Linked DNA regions of Homo sapiens: regions 2 and 3 are each linked to region 1. Evidence: promoter capture Hi-C in 16 types of primary human blood cells and fetal thymus (Javierre and others, 2016). All regions are on one chromosome and are shown on one strand. Each heading gives the region's core, a stretch centred on a gene start or on the middle of the fragment in contact. The rest is flanking DNA. Distances are from core to core; before and after follow the strand shown. Region 1 holds the start of RNF157 (ring finger protein 157). Region 2 overlaps SRP68 (signal recognition particle 68). Region 3 has its middle 7.0 kb from the start of EVPL.

Region 1 (4,835 bases), core at 2,336-4,835:
ACAAGAAACTCTAAAAGAATTCCAAAGAAACCAAAAGTGGTTACATGGGATGGGAGGTTTAGAGGGAGGAAGGAGAACCAGGTGGATGGACAACAGCGGTGAGAACAAGGCTTTCACTGTACACGTTTTCATTCTTTTAAAGTTTGAACCGTGTGACTATATTACCTATTCAAAAATAAATAATTCTAAATAATTTAGGCTATTTATTTCTATCTACCTCTATTTAAGGATAGAAAAAAGCTACAAACCCAAGTCTCAACTTGAAATCTGCCATTCTTGATAGGATTTAAATGTTTGTTTCAATGTGCATACAAAACTAAGAAGTTCCATTAAATATACTAAGAAAAAAGCAATTTCAGCTGGACACTGTGACCGTCATTACAAGGACAGATGATGGTGCTTCTTTCCGAAACAACTGTTCCACCGGCAGTGCAGGTCTAGCCGCTTTCCAGCGAGCCAGATAGTGGTCTCAACTTAACACTCAAACTACAAGGTATGTCATCTGGAGAAAGCTGACTCTGCCACTTGCTTTGTTCCACTGTTAGTACTCAGGATAAGGAGACTTCTCAAAATCAACCCAGGTTGATTCCTCTATAGGGACTTCAATTATGACACGAAATAGCCTTCATTCCATAATCATGGAATGATTGTTTTAAGTCTTGTTTTTTGAGTACAAGTTCAAAACCCAATTCCTTGAGAGGTGGAGGCAGACAGTATAGTAGGAAGAACACTAACTGGCTGAGAGACCCTGGCCATACCAATTCATTTCTCTGGGTCTCCATTTTCTTATCAGTGAAATGAATGGGAGGCCAAGGCGGGAGGATTGCTTGAGACCACGAGTTCAAGACCAGCCTGGGCAACATAGTGAGAGAGTGTCTCTACAAAAAACTTGCCTGGGCGTGGTAGCTCACACCCGTAATCCCAGCACTTTGGGAGGCCGAGGCAGGCGGATCACCTGAGAGGTCAGGAGTTCAAGACTTGCCTGGCCAATATGGTGAAACCCCATCTCCACTAAAAATACAAACAATTAGCCGGGTGTGGTGGCAAACACCTGTAATCCCAGCTACTTGGGAGACTGAGGCGGGAGAATTGCTTGAACCCTAGAGGCAGAGGTTGCAGTAAGCCAATATTGCACCACTTCATTCCAGCCTGGGCGTGACAGAGAGAGACGATGACTCAAAAAAAAAAAAAAAAAATTAAACATTAGCTAGGCATGGTGGTCATGGCCAAACTCTGTCAACGGTTCCTTTCAGGACTAATACTGTAATCCCATAAAGAGCCAGGTCAATTCAAAGATCAGAAGAAAGGCGATGCCTCCGTCTAGAGCATATATGCAAGCTCACATAAGGTTTCAAATACACAAAGGTTTGCTGACAGAGACAGGATGTTCTGATTCTATTTTCTATGTTTTAGCTTCAACAGAAATAATGTGGTCCACTTGCTATAAAGACTTCTCTCATGTATAACTTCTGATTTAACATGAATTACAGTTTTACAGTTAAACTTTTAAAACTGGTAGAGAGGAGAGGATTATTTATTGAGTGTGCTAATTAACAAAAGTTTTGGTTTGGTCTATTGTCTTTTTATTATCATCACCCAAGATTCATACTTGTACAAATATGCTTTGGGGAACAGCCTTCCAGAGGTTTACCTATGTTAAGTCCCACATATGAAAGAGCGGTGAATACTTTCCTGAGGCAGCAAACACTATTGAAAATTCCAAGCTCAGCAAAGTATGCTCCATATTTTGATCAATAAAAGCCATGTGGTTTAAGAAAAACAGAGCCCACAAATACTGCTGCATATTTTTGTCTATTTTAAAAAGTTTTCCTCATGCCGCCCTAAGAATATTTTTGTCTATTAAAAAACAAAATCTATGCCTTGGTTAGCGTTGATTTTATGTAGTCATAATCAGTCAGAGCTTTATTAAAATACTAACGACCCACAGCTTTATCTTAGACCTTTCTAAAACAATTCTTCACCATATTCATCTTTGCAAGGATTCATTCTTTGGTACAAAAGCAGTGAGAAACACAGCTCTGGCAGACACTCTGCAGGGATGCGGGCAGGTTCATCGTCTGGCCCCTGCTTTCACCTGGCAGACACTGGACACACTGCTGAGAAACCAGCTCATCTCAGTATGTCTCTATTCTACCAAAAAGAGACGAGGCTCTGCTCCAATTCTGACACCTCATTCCGAAATCACCAAAATCTCCATCGGGTCCTAAGCAGACAGAATGTCGCAGCCATTCATCCTCAGAAGTCTTGAGAATAAAATTAAAAGTAATTAATTAAAATAAAACTACTTGCAATTAAAAGTAAACACCGGCTAGGTCATGCAATTCATACTGGCCGGTGCTCACATAACTGAACTACCTTGTGATTCTCTGCTTTGCTGTCAAAATCCTCCTCCACCTCCAATGCTGATACCACAATCCAGAGGCTAGAGACATTTAAGTGAAGGGATGATTCTAATAACAAACATACTTCTATACGTTTCCAATACCTCTGCCCTGTCCCAGAGCTGGTCCCACTCCAAAACCCAGGCTTGCCACTACGCTAGCAAAGGGGCAATCCGAGTAACTCTGATACTCAGATTCCCAAACATTTCTGTTACTTTCCACCACCACCACCCCCCCCACCCCCCGGCTTCTGACAGCCTCTGCAAAAGCACCAGCACTGCAAATGCCTGTTTGGCTTCCATCCTTCAGCAGGCAATGGAAGCTTTTCCAGGAGAAACCTAATTCTAACCTTTCCAGAGGCCAGGAGACGGCAGCGCAGGGATAGCACCTGGCGCAAGTGCCTGTTTGGATGCCGAGGTCGCCTCCCTCGCGGCCCTCGGACCCCGCGAGGCAGGTAGGCTTTGGGCCGGGCCGGCCGGGTCCGTGCGGGGCGCCGACCTCGCCTACGACGCCGCAGCCCCGCTCCCCAGGAGCCTCGGTCCCTGCGGGCACGCGTCCCCGTCACGGGGCCGATTACAATGGAGGCCGCTCCCGTCCTCCCGTGGAGGGGCTCGGTGCCCTCGGTGACCCTGCTAGACCCGGCAGGACGCCCCTTGGGCTAATTCGCCCGGGGCGGGGGAGACCTCGGCCTTCTCGAAGACCTCCCGCGCTCGAAGACCGTTTCGGAGCGTCCGCAACCACTGAGTCCCCGAAGACCCGCGGGGCCCCCTCAGGCCGTCCCGACCCAGACCCCTGCCCCTGCCCCTCTCCCTCCTCGCGGCTGCGGCGCCCGCCCGCCCTCACCGGACTTGGGCGGGTAGCGGTACACGGAATTAGACGGGATGTCCACCTCCTCCACGCCCGCGTGCTGCCGGCTCGTCAGGGCCCCCATGGCCGCTGCGGCTGCAGCCCCGGCCCGGCCCCGGTGCCCGCGCCGCCCTCCGCGCTTCACCGCGGCCGCCCGCCCCGCGCCCGGTGCGGGGGCCGACTGCCCGCCGCGGCCGGCTCCGCTGCGGCGCTGCGGCTCTGGCGGCGGGGAGCCCCCGGCGCGCCGCGCACCATCCTCCGCCGGGCACCGCGGCGGCGCCTCTGCCAAGGGGGCTGCGGGTCTGGGCCGGGGGCGCCGCCGCCGCCTCAGGCCGCGTGATGTCAGCGGCCGCTCCGCGCGGGGACCGCGGCGGCCCCAGCCAATGGCGAGGCGGGGCGGGAGCGCCCGCGCCGGAGCAGCCAATGAGCGCGGGACTGCAGCAGGAGCCGGCGGCGCGTGCCTCGCGCGGGGAGCCGCGGCTGGACTCGGCGCGCGTGGACGCGGCCCAGGGCCTCGCGGCGGGGGCGTGGGCGTGGGCGGGGACTCGCGACGGGGACGGGGGCGCGGCCGGGTGCCCGCGGCGGGGCGGGGCGGGACCGGCCGGAGCTGGGACCCCAGGAGACGAGCGCTGCACCCGGCCGGGACGCGTCGCCCCTCCGCGCCTGTTTATCCCGGCTCGGATTACCGCGCAGGGAGCCGCCCCCTCCCGCGGTCCGCGAGGACTGGCCGGGAGCTCGCTCGCCATTGTCCTGGGCGTCCCAAAGCGGGCGGTCCCCGCTCCGCTGCTCCCGCGCCTGGAGGAAGCCTTCCCAACCCCGCCCCTCAGCGTCGGCCGGCGGAGGTCTTCGGAAATCTCATGCAGGGGGGTAGGGAGAGGGGTCCCACGGTGCATTCGCATGTCTCCTGCCCCGTGTTAATGCTGGTGACCGGCTAGGAAGATGCCGCCTCCCTCTCACGTGCGTCTATTCAAAGCGCTCCCAACTCTATACATGCTGTTTAAGGCTCCTTGTAGCCCTAAAGTTAGGAGAACATCGACTGAGGATAAGATCAAGACATCCAGCCTCTGTCTGTATCGTGGAAACGGGACCCCGGAAACTTTGGAAAGGCCTGAGTGCCAAGAGAGTCAACGCAGGCGAAAGCGAACCGGGCCAGGCAGAACCGGGAGCTCCTGTTGATAAAAACACACACAACAGTGGGAAGCTTGGGCCGGCGGAAGACGTCATTCCATTGCTTAATTACAGACATTTGTGTTTTAAACCTTCTATTTTCTTTGTGGGTCTGGTGTTTTTTTTCCTGAGAGAGTGGACTGATCAGCAAACATTTCAACTGCTAGAACATGACTTTCACAACTTTTCAACAGTGTTCGAAGTACAGTTTGGGGTGTCTGGTTCCCTTGATTAGGTTTGTAAAGCTATTTTACGGAGTCTAGGTCTTTCCTGGTTATATTTTGTTTTTGTTTTTCTGTGTTTTGAGACGGAGTCTCCCTCTGTCGCCCAGGCTGGAGTGCAGTGGCGTGATCTCAGCTCACTGCAACCTCCGCCTCCTGGGTTCAAGGGATTCTCCTGCCTCAGCCTCCCGAGTAGCTG
Region 2 (5,029 bases), core at 2,326-4,825, 190 kb before region 1:
GGTAGGAAAATGGTGTGAACCTGGGAGGCGGAGCTTGCAGTGAGCCAAGATTGCGCCACTGCACTCCAGCCTGGGCGACAGAGCGAGACTCCATCTCTCTAAATAAATAAATAAACAGGCCAGGCATGGTGGCTCATGCCTCTGGTCCCAGCTACTCAGGAGGCTGAGGTGGGAGGATCACCTGAGCCCGGGAGGCAAAGGTTGCAGTTAGCTCTAGGAGTGGAAGGAAATGAGGCAAGGGCCGCAGGGAGCTTCAAACACTGGTTGTGTTCTCGTTTTTGTTTTGAGAATCTTGAGTCAGGGCTGTCTCAGGCTGGAATGCAGTGACATGACCATGATCATGGCTGACCGCAGCCTTGACCTCCCTGGGCTCAGGGGATCCTCCCACCTGAGCCTCTGGAGTATCTGAGACCACAGGTGTGCACCATCACACCCAGCTAATTCAAACTCTTGGGCTCAAGCAATCCATTTGCCTCAGCCTCCCAAAGTATTGGGATTACAGGCGTGAGCCACCATGCCTGGCTGTGTTCTAGTTAAGCTATATAAAAATCTTAAATTAGGCATATTAAAATAAAATGTAAATGTAGCATATATACTTATTTGATAAAATGGACATACATGCATTAGCATTTGTATGCATTAAGAAATTATAAATGTAAGCCAGGTGCAGTGGTTCACGCCTATAATCCCCGCACTGTGGGAGGCTGAGATGGGCAGATTGCTTGAGTCCAGGAGTTTGAGACCAGCCCAGGTAACATGGCAAAATCCCATCTCTACAAAACAAATACAAAAATTAGCTGGATGTAGTGGTGCATGCCTGTAGTCCCAGCTACTCAGTGGGAGGCTGAGGTTAGAGGATTGATTGAGCCCAGGCCATTGAGGCTGCAGTGAGCTGAGATCACATCACTGCACTCCAGCCTGAGTGACAGAGCTAGATCCTGTCTCAAAAAAAAAAACAAAGAAAAGAAATTATAAATGTAAATATACATAAATATTACATATACTCTTTTGTTCAAATATTTTAATAATATTAAAAAGTAAAAAAATTAAAATAACCCTTACCTATGCAAGTATTGAAGATTAGACACCTTCCCTGGCTCTCCTTCAAGGATATAATCTCTCTGTTTCTGCAGAAAGTGAAAAAGGTAAAAAGTAAAGCAACTGATGCTCTCCATCGCTCTGACCACCTCATGGAATGGTGGGGTCTCCAAAGTGCCCTGAACATAGACACAAACTCTAGTAAGACAGGAGTCCTCAAATATCAAAGATCTATACTTGACATAATCTAGAATGACAGTGGCACTCAAGTTGCCACTGGCATCTAAAAATTGACCTCAAATAAGAGAACTGAGAGTAACGGCCAGATGAGACTTCCTGTCCACTCCTCCCCGTGCCTAACCCCAAAGCATTAAAATCAGACATTCCACAGTCCACGGCTCTGTGTGAAGGTCTGTGCCACAGATCCCAGTTCCACCCCTTGTGCTGTCAGAGTGTGCCTTTTGTGGCTGGCCGAATAACATACGCCAGAGCTGTCTATATGCTAGCCTCCGTGCAATCTGGGAAGATGTTACCATATATGGTAAAAGAGACTCTACAGATGTGATTAAATTAGGGATCTCTGAATTATCTGGGTGGGTCCAATGTCATCCCAGGGTCCTGAGAAGAGGGAGGCAGATGGGTCAGAGATGCAGAAGATGAAGGAACGGAAGCAGAGGGGAGAGGAGCTGATCGCTTTGAAGCACAAACGGAGAGCCACAAGCCAAGGACTACAGGCAGCCGCTAGAAGCCAGGAGATGCATTCTTGGGAATACTGGAAAAGGATTCCCCTAGGGTTTCTAAAGGAACACAGCCCTGTGAACCCACTAGATTTCTGACCTCGAGAAGCGTAAGATAATACATTTGGATCATCTTAAACCATCAAGTTTGTGGTTAATATGATCGCAGCAACAGGAAATGAATGCGCCTTTGCGGCATCACATTCCTTACATTCTGTGAGGTGTCTCCCAACTGCTATGCATTCAAGGTGAATGACAGTGACAGGGGCTGGGACTCTGTAGGCACCTCTGTTAAGTCGATGAAGGGAAGCACAATACATAAAGGCAGCCTAACGGGGCAAGGAAGCAGGTGACTCCTTAGAGAAAGCAGTGATTCAAAACAAAGTTTATACTCAAGGCTTTGTGGCAGATGCTGAAAAAAAAATAGTTGCTAGGCAACGAAGTTATTGTTGTTTAATGGGTTCAGCGTTTCAGTTTTACAAAATGCAGAGAGTTCTGGAGATGGACTGTTGGTGATGGTTGTACGTTATGAATGCATTTAATTACCACTGAACCATACACTTAAAAATGGTTAAGGTTTTATGTTTAACGTTTTTTACCACAATAAAGTTTTTATGAAGAGGTAATACTTAATTAACTATCAAAGCTTATAGCTGCAAGTATCAGATATTTAGAAACTGCAGAGATCTCTGTGGGCTAGGATGGTGCAGGCATATGCTTTTCAGAAATGGTAAGCTATGAGCTGGACCTTGAAAAACAGATGGGGTTTGGACAGGTGAAGAGGGGCAGGAAAGATTACCCAAGTGTGCGGAGGGAGGGGAATGAGAACAGTGTAACACACGGGGTGGGAAAGGCATTACTGAGATGCCAGTAAGTGGAACAGCTTGAGGCAGAGGACTCAGAAGGATGCAGTGAAGTACAAGGCTGGGAACAGACTAAGGAAGGCTTGTACACCAGCTCAAGTCTGAACTGAGAGGCCAGTGGTCTCTAAGTAGGGCGCATAAAACCCAGGGAGTCTGGGTATGAAACGAAAATTAGAATTTCTATTTCTATTTATCTCATTCAAAAAAGCCCTTATTTTAATGCAGTTTATATATGACAAATTAGTCAAATAATAAGCTATATAATTCATAAATAAATGCATCAGTGGTGCAGGCTCAATGCTGCCTATGGGGTTTATCAGCATAAAAGTTTGGAGGCCATTGCTCAATCCCTAGAGGAAATCACTGGGCTTTTTAAAATTAGACAGGGAAACTAGATTTAGAAAGATTCCATTTGTACTTTGCGAAAGAAAGGCCTGGAGAAGGGAACCGAGACCAAGCCAGAAGAAGCAATTAGGAGACCTTTGCGGTTGCCTAGGCACACGAGAAAAGGCTAATAGAAACAGGTGAAGCAACAATAGGCAAGAGGCCCTGCAAAGGGAGAAGAAGGTGGGTTTGGTGACAGGGACAAAAGAGACAAATAGATCTGAGGTTTTCAGCCTAGATGCCTGAATCAACCACAGGGATAGTGTTTTCAGAAAAGGGAGGCACTGGAGAAGTCCACCTGGAGACAGAATTGGAGGCCACAGGCTTCACAGGCCATATAGGAAACCATTAGGAGGAACAGGGGAGGGAGAAATTAATTTCTCAATGTGATGGAGCCCAGAGGCCCTTGTTTGCTCCCTTACGACCTCACCTCAAAAAAACAAAAACGAAACAGTGGCCAAGCGAGCAGTGCACTCAGAGCACTGGGGTCCACCTGAGAAGGGGACACAGGCTGACCTGGACCCGCCCAGAGCAAGAACCAGGGCTCGGCTGAGGGTCCTACCTGATCTGGCTTGAGCTCCTCCCGAACCACCTGGATGGCGTCCCGACACTCGCTGAGCATTGATTCAAACAGGCGCTCCTTAGTTTCTTCGCTTTCAGCCTAAACAAGGGCAGATCAAAGTAAGAGACTTTCCTTTGAGCAAACCATAGTCACCTAATGGGAGAGGAGCAAAATCGCACATGGAGTCCCCCAACCACACACTCACTCACGCACGCCACACCAGATATCATTTTAATTGTTACTGTTCTCTACCATATAATGGTTTCTCATAGCCTTAGTCATTCATTATTCATATGGAAAGGGGAGTTCTATTTTTAAAAGCAAACATGCTGAAAAAGCTGTCTGCATAACTGATCTGAGACTTAGCAAAGGCTTTACGTCTCTTCCCAGCACAGCTTCCTGCTACTTCCCTGCAGCGCTTCACCCTCTGCTCAGGACCTGGCACCCCTTGAGGGGCCTTACAGACTGGACTTGGGACACTCTACACTGAAGCACAGCACACCAGAACTTTCCTTATCTTTTCCTTCCAGAACAAACTTGTCAAGCTCTACTGTATGCCAACACAATTACCTTTTACAAATGTGACCCAACTCAAAGATTGTTTCTTTTAGGTACAAGGAAATAATAAAAAAGACTAATCAATACCCACCAAAAAGACAGTTCTCCTAAATATCACACTAAGTTCTTTTCGCCACAGACGTGCTGCACTCAGATATTCCACATGACTACTCTGAGAACAATTTTTAGGACATACAAGGTTGACACGCATGAGACGACAGTCTTTGCACAAGTACTGGGTGTCACCTGTCTGCTACACAGCTAGGGTAAGTGAGAAAGTGATTCACTAACTGAATACCTGCCAAGCCACATTATCGTCCCAAAGAATCTGACCGAGCAGATAGAAATGGACAAAAGGCAGAAAGGGGATGAACCTGTGTGACTGGCAGACCCACTGTGAAATTAAAACATCAACATTCCATTATGGTATTTGACTTCCCATAGAAATTAACACTCAATCTGAAAAAATGTGTTAATATTCAACTGACCTCTAAGAAAGCTCAAACGAAAACCCAGTGCTGCCCACCCCTTTAAGAGATGGTTGGGGGAACAGGGGCTTAAAGAAAAACCCTTTTTCTTCTCTTAAGAAAGCTTTTCTTAAAAGTTCTCTTAAGAATCTATTTCTTCTCTTTTCTTAGTCTCCAGTGTGAAAAAAAAAATCTTCCTTGTAACTTACCCAATACAAATCAAACATACTTTTCCACTTATAAGTTACTTGACTTTCCTGTTGTTCACTAACTTGGGAACGAACTGGGGCTCATTCATGCTATAAATCTAGTAAAGCAAACACGGCCACCATTCACTCCTGGAACCACCAGAGCAGCACCATCCAATAGAACTCTCTGCCACGGGCAATGTCCTCTACGTGCACCGTCCAATGAACACCT
Region 3 (4,850 bases), core at 1,273-3,772, 210 kb before region 1:
CAAGAGTTCGAGACCATCCTGACCAATATGGTGAAACCTCATCTCTACTAAAAACACAAAAATTAGCTGGGCGTGGTGGCGCACACCTGTAATCCCAGCTACTCAGGAGGCTGAGGCAGGAGAATCGCTTGAACCTGGGAGGTGGAAGTTGCAGTGAACCGAGATCGCATCACTGCACTCCAGCCTGGGTGACGGAGCGAGACTCCGGCTCAAAAAAAAAAAAAAACCAAAAAAAAATTTTTTTAAAGGCATGCATGCAAAGATAGCATCTCCCCACCTTGAAGGGCCTGGTGAGTCCTTCCTCTCACCTGGCCCTGGCTTGCTCCTTGGTGGATTGAGAGGTTAGAGATGAAACGATCCCTGGGGCTGCTCAACCCTCTGCCAGCCATGACTTTGCGCGGCAGCTTACTCACTCCTTGCGCCTGGAGCGCCACGCTGATGTGGGCAGCTGGCAGCTCACCTGGCCTGGGACCTGAGCAAGAGGCTTGATCAGACCAAGAACAGTGAGACTCTCGGCTCCAAGACTGCCAGACACAGCTGGGCATATGTGCAGCCCGGCCACAGGGTGGCCACTTGGCATGTGTGCCAGCAGTTAAGCCCTCTGGTGCCCACTCTCTCCTCCAGCTCCGGGCTCCTGTGGGGAGGCATTCTTCTCCCTGCTGAGGCAGATGGTGGTAATTGCCTCCTTTGTCCCGGGAGCCGTAAGCTACCAGGCGCCCATGTGTTCCTGATGAGGCGAGGCTTTGCCGTCTCAGGAAATTGCCCTGTTTGTACAAAAGCTCCGCTGCCAGACCCTTGGACCGAAGTTGAGTAATGACCTCTTCCCTTCACTCCCTTCGCCCACTGAGCAAAGCAGAGGCACCCTCCTCCAGCTGGGCCTAGAGGAGCACAGTCTGGCGGACTGGGGGTTCAAGGGACCAGCCTCCTTCCGTTGTCTACAGGTATAGGATTGGCGGGTAGAGGCTGTGGCCCAGGAATCTGCAGGGCCACCAGGAGGAGGCTCTTTTGGCTGTGAGTCTGCCTGGCAAGTCCGATAAAAAGAACTGAAATGCCAAGGTCAGCCTAGAGAGAAGCAAAAGGTGGTACAGCTTGCCTAACCAGACAAGAGTGGGGAGGAACAGGTGCTAGTGATTCCTTTTGGGACTTTTACGGGGAAGGTTTAGAGGAAGCAACTACCAAAACTCCAAAAAACAGAAAACAACCAAATCTTGTGTGTGTTAAGAGAGCAGGCAGGATTCCTCATACTAAATGGCAAGAAAGAGAACATAGAGGGAACCCCTGGAATCCTCAAAACCAAGGCTGCCTTAGGGTATCTGTCCCTCCCTCTGAACCATCCCCTTTCCCTGGGAGAAAGGGGACCCACAGCACCAGCCCCAGTTCAGCTGTAGGACTGATGCTGGTGCAGCCCACTCCCCAGCCCCTGCAGCCATCTCGTGCATGAGCCATCCCTGCATTCCAGAAGTCTGCAGCCCAGCCAGTCTTACTCAGGAACTGGTAGGCCCAAGGGCTCTGGGCCTCTCTGCCACCTTTAAGATAATAGCTGTCCTTACTAGCTAGGTCCGGGGACCTGCAGCCCTATTTTGGAGAAGTGCGGATGTGACGGAGGCAGCCAGCTAACTGTCCATGCCAAGATAATGACCTGCGTTGCCGCTTGAGAAAATGTCCCACCGGCTGCACCACAGCAGCAGGGGTCTGGTGGCATCTGGCACTGTTCACTGTTCAGAGGGAGAAAAAGGTTTATAAAACAGACAAACATGAAAACGAAGGAACAAGAAGTTCTCATAGCTGCCTGATTTGTCTCTATTGTCAGGAAGCTGGAAAGGGGAGGTTAAACCACCCAGCACAGACAGCAGCTAGTCAGACCCAAACTATTGTCTGAATGGCATTGCATAGACTTAGGAGGACTTCCTGGGAAGGGGAAGACAAGGACGCAGGCTGGCTGAGTGGAAGGCTCTCTCAGCTATGTGTACCCATCGACTCAGGGTACAGCAGCCCACACTGTCTTGGGGTCTGGGCTCAGAACATTTTGGGGGAACCTCCTCACTGTCTCCTCCCAGCAACTTTGAGACGCAGCCGCCCCTGTTGTACAGGAGCTGGAGTGTGCTCAGAGGCAATGGACTAGTCAGTGTGGGGCAGGGATCCAGGAGCTCGGAGGACCCTGGGCACCTGCTCTCTCTGCCTCACACCTCTTCTTAGGCAGCATGGGAGGCACTGCCTGGTGAGGCCTTTGCACAGCCACGTCTGTCTCCATTCCACAGATGAGCCGCAGCTAACGTTACTCAGCTTTCACTGGCCCAGGTACCTGCCCGTCATAGCTGGATTGCTAGGTCAGAAGATCCCTGGGGAAGCACTTTGGGGGGCCGAAGCTGCGGATCACCTGAGGTCAGGAGTTCGAGACCAGCCTATCCAACTTGGTGAAACCTCGTCTCTACTAAAAATACAAAAATTAGCTGAGCATGGTGGCACATGCCTGTAATCCCAGCTACTCAGGAGGCTGAGGCAGGAGAATCACTTGAACCCGGGAGGCAGAGGTTGCAGTAAGCTGAGATCGTGCCATTGCACTCCAGTGTGGGCAACAAGAGTGAAACCTCATCTTGGAATAATAATAATAATAATACTTCTACTGGATGCTTGTAGAGCCCCTCACTCTGTGCCAGATGGTGCTCAGAGCAGAGGGTGGACCCAGAGGCCAGGGCCTATCTACTGTGTGCAACCCGCACAGCCTGCCACCCCAGCTGGCCCTGGGCGGTGCCCCCAGCCACAGCCCCTCCCAGGTCCTCCTCCCAAGTGTCTCTAACATCTAACAGAATAACAGGTTGGATTCTTCCAGTTGGTGTTGTCAGGATGCAGGCAATTTCCAATTTATTCTCTTTGCTTTGGAACATCGATAAATTTTACAGCTAAATCTGCTTTCCATCTCCTCTGTAGCAACAACTGTCTTCAAACAAAAAATTAGAACCAACACATATTTTTGCTATCTTTGGATATTTTCCTAGACCTCTAAATGTCCCAGGCTTTTCAAGGCTGCAGACAGAATTGTGCTGTTTAGAATTCTGTGATCAGTTGGCTTTTTTGTGTGTGACTAACGACACCTCGTATGTGAAAAATTAGCGCTGCCACAGCGATGACAGTGAACAGAGCACAGTCCCACCCTCAAAGCCCCTGGCGTTGGCCTTCCTCTCCTAGAGGGGGTGAAGCCTCTGCCTCAGCTTTTGGGAGGAAAGTCCTGGCTCTGGCCCAGAGCCGCTATGGGTTGAGGATGGCCTGTCATCACAGGCTGTCACCTTGTGCTTGTGGTGACAGGCTCAGGTTGCCACCAGGGGAAGGGGTCGGAACCAAGCCCAGCACCGTTTCATTTCAAAGAGGGAATCCAAGAGTTCTCACTGATTTAATGTAAAACCAGAGAGGAGACAGCAAATCCAAACAACATTCGGGAAGAGAGGAACAGGCCAGGAGACCCAGCAGCAAAGGCCAGTGCCATCCTCAGCCACCTCGTGCTCCTGACCCTCACCCAGCAGGCCTGGTGGGGCTTGCCTGGAACAGAGAATAGAAACTATGATCACATAGGCCAGGCGTGGTGGCTGACGCCTGTAATCCCAGCACCTTGGGAGGCTGAGGCGGGTGGATCACGAGGTCAGGCATTTGAGACCAACCTGGCCAATAGAGTAAAACCCCATCTCTACTAAAAATACAAAAAATTAGCTAGGCGTGGTGGCGCATGTCTGTAATCCCAGCTACTCGGAAGGCTGAGGCAGGAGAATCGCTTGAATGGGAGGCGGAGGTTGCAGTCAGCCAAGATCACACCACTGCTCTCCAGCCCGGGCGACAGTGTCAGACTCCATCTCAAAAAAAGAAAAGCCCAGGTGCGGTGGCTCATGCCTGTAATCCCAGCACTTTGGGAGGCTGAGGCGGGTAGATCATGAGGTCAGGAGTTTGAGACCAACCTGGCCAAAATGGTGAAATCCCCATCTCTACTAAAAATACAAAAATTAGCTGGGCGTGGTGGTGGCCACCTGTAATCCCAGCTACTCGGGAGGCTGAGGCAGGAGAATTGCTTGAACCTGGGAGGTGGAGTGAGCCGAGATTACACCACTGCACTCCAGCCTAGGCGACAGAGCGAGACTCCATCTCAAAAAAAAAAAAAAAAAAAAAAAAAAAGGACAGAAACCACGACCACGACCACATCCACAGCAGACCTAGGGCAGGCTTTAAAAGTATGAGACCGGGCCAGGCGTGGTGACTCATGCCTGTAATCCCAGCACTTTGGGAGGTCGAGGCAGGTGGATCACTTGAGGCCAGGAGTTCGAGACCAGCCTGCCCAACACGGTGAAACTCCGCCTCTACTAAAAATACAAATATTAGCTGGGCATGATGGCACGCACCTGTAGTCCCAGCTACTTGGGAGATTGAGGCAGGAGAATCGCTTGAACCTGGGAGGCGGAGGCTGCAGTGAGCTGAGATCGTGCCACTGCACTCCAGCCTGGGTGACAAGAGTGAGACTGTCTCTAAATAAATAAATAAATAAAAGTATAAGGGGACTGAATGGAGCTCTCTTCGTCCTCTCTTGATGTTGGAGACAGAAGCCTCCTCCAGGGTCAGAGCTTGCTGACAGCACCAGAGTCCATCCTGGAGGAGGGACTGGAGCCAGCACAACACGGGAACACCCACTTGGAACAGACCCATTCGCGGCCCCCGGGGCCTCATCTGCATGTCCTGCCCCGTGGGAAGGCAGGACTGTGTGGCCTCCGAAGTGTCTTTTTGTGAAAACCCCCAGCGAACAGCCTGCAGGGCCCAGGGGCAGTGAGGGCCTGACTTGAAACCTGCTCCCATCAGAGGCAGAGCCACTTCCC

The links. The method cuts DNA at HindIII sites, captures the fragments that hold promoters and counts their contacts. A CHiCAGO score of 5 or more calls a contact.
Region 2: a fragment that was not itself captured here is called in contact with the fragment with the promoter of RNF157 in region 1 in 1 of 17 cell types (endothelial precursors); the score reaches 5.0 in endothelial precursors.
Region 3: a fragment that was not itself captured here is called in contact with the fragment with the promoter of RNF157 in region 1 in 1 of 17 cell types (endothelial precursors); the score reaches 5.1 in endothelial precursors.

Annotation. Positions count from the first base shown.
Region 1 is chr17:76,236,908-76,241,742 of GRCh38, forward strand. It overlaps RNF157 (ring finger protein 157), which reads right to left and starts at 3,586. Exons shown (of 19, transcript NM_052916.3): 1 at 3,246-3,586. The coding sequence starts at 3,333. LOC105371896 (a long non-coding RNA gene) reads right to left here. Exons shown (of 6, transcript XR_007065913.1): 6 at 3,955-4,835. RefSeq lists an enhancer at 2,554-3,226 and silencers at 3,531-3,670, 3,691-3,760. The HindIII fragment of the contact is 1,725 bases long and covers 2,723-4,447 here.
Region 2 is chr17:76,046,844-76,051,872 of GRCh38, forward strand. SRP68 (signal recognition particle 68) reads right to left here. Exons shown (of 16, transcript NM_014230.4): 9 at 3,585-3,683; 10 at 1,063-1,127. Among named protein-coding and RNA genes, the nearest start is that of EVPL, 22 kb to the left of the region's middle. RefSeq lists a silencer at 1,317-1,386. The HindIII fragment of the contact is 2,312 bases long and covers 2,420-4,731 here.
Region 3 is chr17:76,031,885-76,036,734 of GRCh38, forward strand. No RefSeq gene overlaps it. Among named protein-coding and RNA genes, the nearest start is that of EVPL, 7.0 kb to the left of the region's middle. RefSeq lists an enhancer at 2,111-2,718 and a silencer at 4,824-4,850. The HindIII fragment of the contact is 7,176 bases long and covers 1-4,850 here.